2 separate regions of the Homo sapiens genome follow, and region 2 is linked to region 1. Evidence: promoter capture Hi-C in 16 types of primary human blood cells and fetal thymus (Javierre and others, 2016). All regions are on one chromosome and are shown on one strand. Each heading gives the region's core, a stretch centred on a gene start or on the middle of the fragment in contact. The rest is flanking DNA. Distances are from core to core; before and after follow the strand shown.

Region 1 (6,211 bases), core at 1-2,500:
GGGCAAAGCATATGACAAAGGCCAGCCTGGACAATATAGTGAAACCTCGTCTCTACCAAAAAAAAAAAAAAAATCAGCCGGGCATGGTGGCTCCAGTGCCTGTAGTCCCAGCTACTTGGGAGGCTGAGGTGGGAGGACTGCTTGTGCCCAGGAGGTGGAGGTTTGTAGTGAACTGTCACTACAGCCTGGGCGACAGAGCGAGACCCTGCATGAAAAAAAGGAAAAAAAAAAAAAAAAGCATAGGACAAAGGATGGTGAGGTAAGAAAAGCTGGGTCTTTGTTGCTCCAATAAACGTAGCAATGTCTTTCACAAGGATACTGAATTCGTAATGTGCTGTGTATTCTAAAGAAAACAAATTATTTCCTTTTAATTTTGCACTACTTGCTAATCTTATTTCCAAATAGGAAAAAAAAAAGTCAACAACTATGTGCCGGCCCAATATACGTTAGTCGATCTGATTATTCCTCGGTTCTTCACAGCAGTAACACAGCATGTATTTTCTCTCTCAGGCCCAGGAATAGCGCCACCATCTACCATACACAGGTCCAAGGCTTCGATACATGTGGAATTTAAACAGTACAGAATATTCTACTTCCTCTCCAGGCAATCATCATACTTACAAGTCTGTTTCTGCCTTTTTCCCAAAACTTAAGCCCAGAGCATCTTCCCAAATTCTACGTTTGAAAGAACCAGCTTCCCCCTGCTCACAGATCGCTTCAACATCCATCTGATACTACTACTACTCTTCCTTAAGAGACATTTCCCTTGGCCTTGGGAGGAAAGGGTCTTTCACTTAAGAGCTCCGATTCTCCCCGTCGCCCCTTTCCATCCCCTCGACCCACAAAGGGCTCCGGTGTTTCCCGCCGTTCATGCAGCGAAAAGAGAAAGCAAAATGCCCTCAGGAGGCTCCAGGTGAGGCCCTTCGGTGCCCCAGAGACGGGTGTCTTAAGTCAGACTCCGGAGCTGTGCAGTGCAGCCCTGGCTACAGAAAGCTGCTTCGTCTGAATCCCCGGGTCTGCAGGCAGAGCCCACAGCCTGAAGGGCCAGCGCTGTCACCTACCTGCCCGGGACCTGCGGGCGGGGACCTGGGCCGTTCCCGAGGCCGCGCGGCCAACAGTTCCCGCCGCCACGCGACGGAGGAGGAGGCAGAAGACGGGGCCGTGCCAGACTAGCCGGGTAGCCTGGAACCACTTCGCCAACCTGCAAAGGCGTAGCACTTCTCCCTCCCAGCCTGCAGCCGCCACCGACTCGGCGGAGTCGGCCTCCTGGGAAAAAACAACCTGCGAAGCTCCTCCTTCTCCTCGTGCTCCCTACGCGAGGCACTCTCTAACCAATGGGAAACGTGGTGGGCGGAGCGAGAGTGACAGACGATTACAGAGTCCTCCCGCCGGCGCGAACGGGCGGTGCAGTAGCAGGGCCAATCAGCAGCGTGGGTGGGAAGTACAGGGGCGGGAGAAAGTAGGGAAATTACGCGCCCAATCAGATCTCGGGGCCCTCGAGCGACGGGTCCTGCGGCCCGTGGCCTTCCGAGCGCGGCGCTCAGGGGGCGTGCCTGCCTGGGCCAATCGGCGCGAGCCCACAGTGCGGAGCGAGCGCCTCAAATGCTCGGGTTTCTCAGCTGATTGTCTCCAGCCGAGAGTTGTTTTTTGCAGCTACGGAGCCGAGCCGCAGCAGGAGGAGCCGAGACCCCCGGGGGGTGGGGGGAAAGAGGAGGCGGGGTCCGGGGGAGCCGCGGCTGCTTTGCGCTGGACTCCGGGTCCCGTCACGGCGCTTCCTGGGGTTAGAGGCTGGGGTGGGTGGGGGGTAAGGGGGCAGTCCTTCTCCCCTTCGACGGCGGCTCCGAGTCCAGCCCCTTCCTTCCCGCGCTCGCTCGCCCGGCCCCCAGCCCCCTCATGAGGGTGTCCGTGCCGGGTCCGGCGGCCGCTGCCGCCCCCGCAGCCGGCCGCGAGCCCTCCACGCCCGGCGGGGGCAGCGGAGGCGGAGGCGCCGTCGCTGCAGCCTCAGGCGCCGCGGTGCCGGGCTCCGTGCAGTTGGCGCTGAGCGTCCTGCACGCCCTGCTCTACGCCGCGCTGTTCGCCTTTGCCTACCTGCAGCTGTGGCGGCTGCTCCTGTACCGCGAGCGGCGGCTGAGTTACCAGAGCCTCTGCCTCTTCCTCTGTCTCCTGTGGGCAGCGCTCAGGACCACCCTCTTCTCCGCCGCCTTCTCGCTCAGCGGCTCCCTGCCCTTGCTCCGGCCGCCCGCTCACCTGCACTTCTTCCCCCACTGGCTGCTCTACTGCTTCCCCTCCTGTCTCCAGTTCTCCACGCTCTGTCTCCTCAACCTCTACCTGGCGGAGGTAAGGCGGGAGGGCCGGCATGCGGGGCCCGGGCGGGTGCGCGGGGCCGCCGGGATCAACTCCCGCTGAGGACCAGCGGGGGCGGGGGGTGGGCAGCGAGAGGCGGACTGGAAACCAGCCTGGGGAAACTGAGGCACACCTGGAGTGTGAGCCAGTGTTTTCGCCTTAAACTTAAGTGGCTGATTGGCTTGATTACTGAGGGGTTCGGGCTAGGGGGTGAGTGAGTGAGTGTGTGTGTCTGACAACTTAAAACAGCAACGGAACGAACCCTTTGTTCGGTGTTCTGGCCCTCCGAGGTAAGGCGTTGGTGGCACCAACAAAGTGGCATCGCAAGAAGTAGCAGCCCCGGTGGCTCTGCCGAAGCCGGACTGTGTTGAGGGAGGTTGGATGCTGAGGTAGCAGCAGCTCTGCTGAAGCTGGACTGCTGCCAGCCATTACGTCACCAGGCAGAGCTGTTCCTCTGCTATTGTTGCTGCGTTTCTTTTATTAGAAGCTTATATTCCCTCCTGCATCTCCTTTCCTGTGGCTCGATAAGCCTCACATAAATTTCGTTCGATAGTTCCCCAGCAGGGTTGATGATCAATAACCAATGCTGAGGATCAGGATAAGGACCTCCATAAAGCCCTTAATGTTTGCCCCAGTTGCTTCGTGCTTTAGCGGTTTATCCTACCTCCTATTAGCATAGTCTTTTTTGGAGCTAATTAAGAGAAAAAAATACTAGCTTAACCTGTGCCTATTGCAGAAACAAAACCACCAAACTGTTTTTGCAATAACTTGCTTAATATCTGGAACCTAATCACACCCCCTTTCTCTTTTATGGGGAATTGCTGGTTGGATTGCATTGTTCTGCAGCGCTTAGGTATTTGACCCATTTCAAACAGGTTTGGGAGTGTAAGGTTGTCAATCATGTGTGTCAGCTTGTGGTATTTAAGCCATAATATTTTAAGACTTTCCCCCAAAAAAGTCCTCCTTCCCACCAAAAGAAAAGCTTGAGGAGGGGAGGAAGCAAGGTGACATCATATGCTTAATACAGACTAATATAGAATAATATTGGCCTATGCAGCTAATCCTCTCAAAGGCTTTTTTGGAGGTGATGGAATTAATGTAGTTCCAAGCAAAAGTAAAAAAAAAAAAAATGACGTATATTAAGTGTTTATATTTCCTGCATAAACCAACTCTTTTCTCCTTTAATAGGAAGTAGAATGCATAATTTTATAATCAGTCATAATGTCAGCTATTTAGCACACTAAAAACAATAGTTGAAAACAACAAAACTAATTTAACTTTTATTATTTTCCTTCTCCATCCTTTGAAAGTCCAAACAATACAATGACAAAAACGCAAACCAGTAAGCGGAAATAAGAAGCATAGGTTATCACAAATCAAATGATGCCATAGTCGTGTCACTTATTTGAGGGTGTTCTAATCTAGTTGTCGTTTAAGCTGTTATAACACTTCTACCCTTTATACTTAAACTGATACATTGTAATCTTCCTGCCACCATTTCAGATAGTGCGTTAGTGACTTCTCAACGCTGAAGCTTTTACTCCAGGTTCAGATGTTTACCTGAAAGTGACTAGCGATTTTTATGCCAGGGGCATCAGATGACTTGTTTTTTCCCTATATATTTTGATTTACAAAATAATATGAATGATTCACTGTAAAATAGTTGGTAGGCATTTCATAAAGTGGGTAAACACTCTTTTTACTTCTTGAGGTATAACATATACAATAAAGTCCACAATCTTAAATGCACACCTAGATGAAATTTTATATCTGTATACACCCATGTTACCACCACCCAGATTAAGATATAAAGCATTTTCCGTGTCCCAGAAGTTTCCCTTTTTACCCTCTCCCAGTCAGTAGCTCCCCCAGGTAAGCACAAAGTGGGTAAACACTATCCAAAAAAGGAGATATATTTAAGCTCAAAATTCTGAAGGTATGCTTATATAGCATAGAATACACGGAGTATCTAGATTGGGTCTTCAGACTTTGAGCTAATATTCCAAGCTAGTGAGGAAGAATTTAAAATCTGAAAGTCTTCCTGTTAAATGTTTGTGTAATATGCTTTTTTAAAAACGATAAAACTCTATTAACCTGAAAAATACAATTTGGAAAGAAGCTGGGATAAAGCTTTTTTCCTTTGTAATGCCTGCTAAAAAGAGTGTGAGTTGTTTGTCTATCCTTTCTTTTTATAATGAAATTAACAATTTTAGGACACAGTTGTACTTAAGAGAACAAATTGTCAATTTTTTGAAAGCCTGTTTGAAAGGAGATATCTTAACCAGAAATCATTTCTCTTTTCATTAGAGAAAATCTCCAGGAACCTGTATTTAAGAGAGTATTTTAGTTCAAATTTTTATGTCAGTTCCAGATAACTGCAAGTATACTTCCCATTGATCATTCTGAATTAATGAAGTTTTTCCTAGTGAGTTCTTCATATTATAGCAAAGTGGTAGGGAAAGCCTATGTGGTGATAAATATAAGACTTAACTGATGTTTAATTTTTTTAACCAAAAGCCCCTATAACTTTTTTGAATAGTCGTGTGTCTTGATTACCAACTCACTCTGTCTTTGCTGTATGCCGTATTAAATACCAATTCCATATTACTTTTCACTTGTTTAAAGCATTTGTTTTTTTCTGATTCTCACTAAGAGTAGCTTTAAGGACTTAGTTATAAAGAATCGTGGATCAGTATAAAAAGTAAAACAAACTCTACTACTTTGAATACATTTTGGTGGATATTCTAAAACTCATGTTTTTGAAAAGTTAAGAAATGCCTCAACCCCTTTTTTCTTTTTTTTTTTTTCTTGGTGTCTACACTTGAATGGAATTGAGATGAGGGAAAGTAGCCCTTTCTTAAACAGTTAAGCTTCTCAGTGTCTCATACTTAACCTCCTGGAAGCCTATAGTTGAGAGAGAGGGGGAAAAAAAAAAGAAAAGCCACCTTGTACACTAATCTAAAAACACATTTTGAACTTCTGGCAGGATCAGTAGGACAAGAGCTTTTCCAGAGAAGGGTTCACACTCCTGGAGTTTTACCGGAGAAGACTTCAATATTTGAAACAGACTATCTGATAAAACTGATTCTATCTACCATTAGAACATATTGAAGGACTTAAAAGGAGAATTGACAGCATCACACAATATATCCATGTAAGAAACCTGCACATGAACCTCCTGAATCTAAATTTTTTTTTTTAATGAGAGTTGATGGTATACCATCTTGGAGTGTTGTGATGCATGCCAAAATCAATGAGTTCATCTTCAACATATTGAAGTTCTTACTTTCAGTTTGGTCTTAGGAGTGCCAGTTGCTTAATCAGGATAAAGTACAGTGACTTAATTACAATGCCAAAACAGATAGGAAAATTAAATTCAAAATCTTAACTCTTACATTTATGGATGCTATTATTGTCCCTACCAGTAGATATATTCTTATATTGGTAATACTTCAAATAACATGCAAGTCAACTTACAGGTTCATTTGATTTTGTTCTGTTCTTTGATTTCCCACAAAAGTTGAAATCACATTTCTACCACCTAAAATAGAAATTCCTTGAGGATAAGAAGGAATATTTTACATATTTTTATCTCCAGCAACTAGAACAATGATGATTATATTATTGAATGACACTTTATAAAAAGGTCAAAATTTAGAAAATAGTTATCTAAAATATGGGGGTTAACTTTATTTTGATGAACATTTGAGGTAAATTATGTATTGTCTGGAATCTATTTTCTGCCTAAAAGATTTCATACAATATAGAGTTTTGTTTAATGAAACTTTTTATATCATGGCAAATGGCCCATACTAATTAAGGCTTTGCTAATTTAGTTTCAACAAATTCTACAAAATAGAAAAGTCTG
Region 2 (6,211 bases), core at 1,568-4,067, 2.3 Mb before region 1:
AACACTGATGTGGGACTGTCTGGGAAGCAGGAGGATGTAGCAGTTTTAGATAGGCTGTAAGAGAAAATCTCTCCAAGAAAATGATGTCTGACTATAAAGACCTAAAGGAGGTAAAAGGGCCAGCCACGTGATTATCTGAGGGAAGGGTGTTTCAGGTAGAAAATTCAGCAAGTACAAAAGTCCTAAGACTAAAACATGTCTACGTTATAGAAACAAGAAAGCCAGTATGGGGCAGAAGCAGAACAAACAAGGGACAATATTAAAGAGGTCAGAGAGGTAAAAGCGGGAGGTGGGGCAGCCCTAGACTGCAGAGGGCCTAGTAAACCTTTGGGAGGACTTTTTTGACTTTTATTCTGAGAAGCACTGAGAGGGTTTTGAACAAAGGAGTGAAATGATCTCACTTATCTCTTTGTGTTTGGGGAGAAAAAGAAACTAAATAGGACAAGAGCAGATGATCAGAGACCAGTTGAAAAGATATTTCAATATTCCAGGAGATTGGTGATGATGACTTGGTTCCAGGTGGTAAAAGTCAAAAAGTATAAAACGGTAACTAAATATATAGTTTGAGGTAGAGCTAAAAGGATGTGCTGACAAATTAGATGTGTGGTATAAAAAAAGACAATATTCAAGAATAACTTAAGATTTTTAGTTTGAGCAACCGGAAGGATGGAGTAGCCATTTATTGATATGTTAACCACTACAAAAGAAACAAGTTTGCAGGGGAAGAAAAGGATACAGTGTTGGTTGAGATGCCTCTGTGGAAATATCAAGTAAAAAGTTGGCCGGGTGTGGTGCTTCATGCCTGTAACTCAAACACTTTGGAGGCTGAGGCAGGAGGAATGCTTGGGCCCAGGAGTTGGAGACCAGTTTATGCAACACAGTAAGACCCTGTCTCTACAAAAAGTTTTTTAAAAATTGGGGCTGGGCGTGGTGGCTCATCCCTGTAATCCCAGTACTTTGGGAGGCCGGGGCGGGCAGGTGACGAGGTCAACAGATTGAGACCATCCTGGCCAACATGGTGAAACCCCGTCTCTACTAAAAATACAAAAAAATTACCTGGGCGTGGTGGCACACGCCTGTAGTCCCAGCTACTCGGGAGGCTGAGGCAGGAGAATCACTTGAACCTGAGAGGTGGAGGTTGCAGTGAGCCAAGATTGCACCACTACACCCCAGCCTGGCAAAAAAGCGAGACTCCATCTAAAACAAACAAACAAACAAAAAATTAGCTGGGTGTGGTGGCACACACCTGTAGTCCCAGCTATATGGGGGCGGCAGGGGGGTGAGGTGGGAGGATCATTGAGCCCAGGAGGTTAAGGCTATAGTGAGCTGTGATCTTGCCACTGCACTCCATCCTGGGTGACAGAGTGCGACCCTGTCTCAAAAAAAGAGTTGAACATTCATGTTTAAGAAAGAGGTCTGAGCCAGAAATGTAAATTTGGTAATTATCAGATTTAGATTATACGTGAAGCAATGAGGCAGGATGGCATCTCCAAAGGAGGATGTGTTAATAGAAATAGAAGTCTAAAAATTGGCCAGGCGCAGTGGCTCACGCCTGTAATCCCAACACTTGGGGGGCCGAGGCGGGCAGATCACAAGGTCAGGAGTTCAAGGCCAGCCTGGCCAACATGGTGAAACCCCATTTCTACTAAAAATATAAAAAAAAAAAAATTAACCAGACGTGGTGGTGCGCGCCTGTAATCCCAGCTACTCGGGAGGCTGAGACAGGAGAACTGGTTGAGCCTGGGAGGCAGAGGTTGCAGTGAGCCAAGATCGCACCACTGCACTCCAGCCTGGGTGACAGAGCAAGACTCCGTCTCAGGAAAAAAAAAAAATATATATATACACACACACACACACACACACACACACACACACACACACACACACACACATATATATAAATGGGCTCTGGGGAGGTCAGAAGGATGTGGTCACAGAAAGATGAGGAGGAATCAAGGGAAGGGAAACTAGAAGGAATATTCAGAGAAAAAAAATCCCTGAAAGCTTGATATTCTTCTGGAAGCCAAATGAAGAAAGGATTTCAAAAAAAGAAGAGATCAACTGTCAAATGCTGCTAATAGGTCAGTTAAGAAAGAACTATAATATACTTTGTATGTAAGAAGTAGTTTTTGGCAGGCAGGTGGCTCACTCCTGTAATCCCAGAACTTTGGGAGGCCAAGGCTGGAGGATCACTTGAGTCCAGGAATTTGAGACCAGCCAGAGGACATAGCAAGACCTTGTCTCCACAAAAAAAATAAGAAAATTAGCTGGGTGTAGTGGCACATGCCTGTAGTCCCAGCTACTCAGGAGGCTATAGTGGGAGGATCATTTGAGCCCAGGAGTTGGAGGCTGCAGTGAGCTATGATCATGCCACTGTACTCCAGCCTGCGTAGCAGAGCAAAACCCTGTCAAAAAAAAAAAAAAAGAGAGAGAGAGAGAAATAGTGTTTGAGTTTACAAAATGACCTAATGAGGAAGAAAACTGGAGTACAGAAAACTTTACTTAGAAGAGCTAATACTAGTCCTTATATCTAGATCTTGGTATTATTTTCATCTTGTTGCTTCACTTCTACATGTTAAAATGTGAATGTGTAATACTTTATCCATTTGAAAAAACTTTGTACTAGCATATATTCTTATGTAAAAGAAGAAAATAATTTTTTATGGACATGGGGTCTCGCTATGTTGGCCAGGTTGGTCTTGAACTCCTGGCCTCAAGCAATCCTCCCATCTCAGCCTCCCAAAGTACTAGGATTACAGGCATGAGCTACTGCACCTGGCCCATGGAAGAAAATAATTTTTGGTTGTTAATTTTTAACATGAGATAATGCTAAATCCACTAGTTACATTAAAATTCCTTTTGATTCAAATATGCAGGATATAATCAAATTACTGTTCCCTTGAAAGAGAGTCCATGGTTAATACAAAAGACATATAGTTGATTTATGTCAAGGGGTAACACAGGTAATGCTTTGAATACTCAGCATAAAACACTTTAATGGAATATTATTGCTCCAAATATACCATACCAAAATTAAACCAAAAATAGAAGGCTACTTAATCATTGCTGACAGGGAGCCAAGTACAGCAAGTTAAAGTACATTCCTACCGCTCATCTAGTTCTGGCTGAACTCTTCGGGTCAGTTTGGGTCATTATTAGTTTGGAATAATTCCAAATGACTCCCTCGAGTTCTACTGTTACATTCAGCGGCTTTAGGAATTCCAGAACAGGCTCATGTCACAAAAATCACAGGATCTCTTATTAGTTTTTGGCTTTGACTTGAAGTAATCTTTTCAAAAAGCAATTCTGATCAAGTTAATCTAATTACTTTGCTATGTAAATGAGAACCCAACAGGACTTCCTATTCTCAGGCAGAGACCTTAACTCAGTGTACCTACAGTCTACCATACTAGCTTCATCCACTTATTCTTCTTGTTTTTTAAAATAAGTCATTAAATTCAGAATCTGAGACCTATTCAAAACAAACAAACAAACAAATCATGTTCTTACTTTCCCCTCAGCCTCAAATCCTTCCCCCCCGCCCTTTTTTTTTCTTGTTAATTCTACTGATCTTTCAGATAATTGTTTACTTCCTTATTGTCTGTCTCTCTGCCACAGCCACTTAGAACACAAGCTTTATAACAGCAGGGGCTCTGCTACATCTTCCGTATCAAGAACAGTGTCTGCAGCCAGGCGACGTAGCTTACACCTGTAATCCCAGCATTTTTGGAGGCCAAGGTGGGAGGATCGCTTGAGCCCAGGAGTTCAAGACCAGCCTGGAGACAGTAATATTACTATATTTGAATATATAATCCAGAAAGAAGCACAAATGTTGCTTGCTTAAAGTCTTCTTTGACTCTCATATATCAATGACACCAGTTATATTTTCTCAGATCACCCTGTACTTTTCTTGTGGGCCTCAGGAAAGATCCAGTGCCATCTTCTAAAACAAACTTCCAAGAGACATTTGTACAAACGCAGAAACACTAGGATCTCAGTAGAACTTCACAAAACCATTTTTAAATCAAAGCCCCTACCGATCTTTTTCCTTGCCGTAGACTGCTATTAATTAACCCAGACATTCTCTCACACCTCTTGCCTTTTAGATATCTAAGAGCAAATTGTCACAGGGTGGGGAGGTCGATATTTAACCTGAATCTAATTGGACTCAGGAACAAAGTAATTCAACCAATTCTTTCTAGCTTTCTCTGACATTTTTAACTACAGCTGGCAAGAAAACAGCCATGTTCTTTTCTATGGCTAGCCTGGTGAAAAACACCTTACAGAAAAGACATCTACAAAATAAATATCAGGGACTGTAAAATCTGATAAAATGATTTTGAGGCATATTTCCCATATGAAGAATGCTGATTTATCTCAACATATAATCAAATAACACATGCATATAGTACCAAGGGATTTCAACGACACAGGTAATAAACTGCATTTACAAATATACACCATGCTCTTTTTTCCCCAAGTAACACAATAGCTTCAATGATCTTGGGGAGCAGTGGTGAAGGCAATTATGTTCTAGGCTCTTTTAGGGAAGATACATAATTTAGCAGTAATGTTAACAATCCATGCATTATCCATTAGTAGTGTCATTTCACTCTGCTTTGTAGCTCTCTGTTTTTAAATGATCTAGGTGAGGTTCTATTTTAAAAGTTTAAGAACAAGCAAAAAGCTAAAGAACACCACATTTCTATTCCCAAAATTATTTTTCCATAAACCTATTTGTCTATCTCTGTGTTTCTTTTTCTTTCTTTCTTTCTTTTTTTTTTTTTTTGAGACAGAGTCTCGCTCTGTCGCCCAGGCTGGAGTGCAGTGGTGCGATCTCAGCCCACTCTAACCTCTGCCTCCCATGTTCAAGAGATTCTCTGCCTCAGCCTCCCGAGTAGCTGGGATCACAGGCATGCACCACCACACTTGGCTAATTTTGGTATTTTTTTTTTTTGAGACAGAGTCTTACTCCATCGCCCATGCTGGAGTGCAGTGGCGCGATCTCGGCTCAACTGCAAGCTCCACCTTCTGGGTTCATACCATTCTCCTGCCTCAGCCTCCCGAGTAGCTGGGACTACAGGCGTCCGCCACCACGCCCGGCTAATTTTTTGGGTTTTTTTCTGTATTTTTAGTAGAGATGGGGTTTCACCGTGTTAGCCAGCATGGTCTCGATCTCCTGACCTCAGGTAATCTGCCCGCCTTGGCCTCCCAAATGGGATTACAGGCATGAGCCACTGCGCCCAGCCCATCTCTGTGTTTCTATGTAATGCAATGAATACTTGAGATTGGTTTTTTAAAAATCCCTTGAATTTTCAATGTTGACAATGGTGACTTTGTCAAATACATATATATATGGATCTATATATGGGTATATATGGATATATACATGGATATAGACATAGATATCCAGTTTTCATAAAAACTAGCCAAAACTGGAAAATAAGCAAAAGAATACTGGCTGTGTTTCAGTACAGTGCTATGCTTGAATCTTTTATTAATTTCTACTGACTATTTTACACATCTATAAGATTAAGTTACAGCTTTTCAGCAGATAGAGATGCAAGTAATTTTTTTTTTTTTTTTGAGATGGAGTCTCGCTCTGTCGCCCAGGATGGAGTGCAGTGGTGTGATCTCGGCTCACTGCAACCTCTGCCTAGCAGGTTCAAGTGATTCTCCTGCCTCAGCCTCCTGAGCAGCTGGGATTACAGGCACACACCACCACACCCAGCTAATTTTTGGTATTTTTTAGTAGAGACGGGGTTTCACCATGCTGGCCAGGCTGGTCACGAACTCCTAAACTCAGTTGATCCACCAGCCTCAGCCTCCCAGAGTGCTGGATTACAGGTGTGAGCCACCACGCCCACTGAGATGCAAGTAATTTTTAGCCAGAGGAAAATATAACCCAAAGCCTACTCTTTTATGTTTCTTGTAGGGTATTAACTAATTCTGTATGTAACCCAACAGTCTTAATATTCCCTTATTAAATTGCCTATAAATACCTCCTCAAATTTTCATATTAAGTGACTTTAACATCTTACTAGTTCCCTCATCAATGGGCTGAATCAAAATAATTGATACATGTTCATTTACATTTGCATGGAAGTGATGACTTTACCTTTCTGAAAATTACGTTCTAACAGTTTTGGAGGTTCCACCAAGATGTCCAAGTGGACTAAACTGACAGAGCCAAGTAAGCTACATTGCTGCT

Evidence for each region. The method cuts DNA at HindIII sites, captures the fragments that hold promoters and counts their contacts. A CHiCAGO score of 5 or more calls a contact.
Region 2: a fragment that was not itself captured here is called in contact with the fragment with the promoter of TXNDC16 in region 1 in 1 of 17 cell types (neutrophils); the score reaches 7.3 in neutrophils.

Annotation. Positions count from the first base shown.
Region 1 is chr14:52,551,255-52,557,465 of GRCh38, forward strand. TXNDC16 (thioredoxin domain containing 16) reads right to left here and starts at 1,251. Exons shown (of 21, transcript NM_020784.3): 1 at 1,062-1,251. It overlaps GPR137C (G protein-coupled receptor 137C), which reads left to right and starts at 1,582. Exons shown (of 7, transcript NM_001099652.2): 1 at 1,582-2,337. The coding sequence starts at 1,894. RefSeq lists silencers at 1,772-1,841, 1,852-2,051. The HindIII fragment of the contact is 4,024 bases long and covers 1-2,828 here.
Region 2 is chr14:50,222,474-50,228,684 of GRCh38, forward strand. All of the region lies in intron 1 of SOS2 (SOS Ras/Rho guanine nucleotide exchange factor 2), which reads right to left. Among named protein-coding and RNA genes, the nearest start is that of SOS2, 6.0 kb to the right of the region's middle. RefSeq lists an enhancer at 3,335-3,861. The HindIII fragment of the contact is 1,630 bases long and covers 2,003-3,632 here.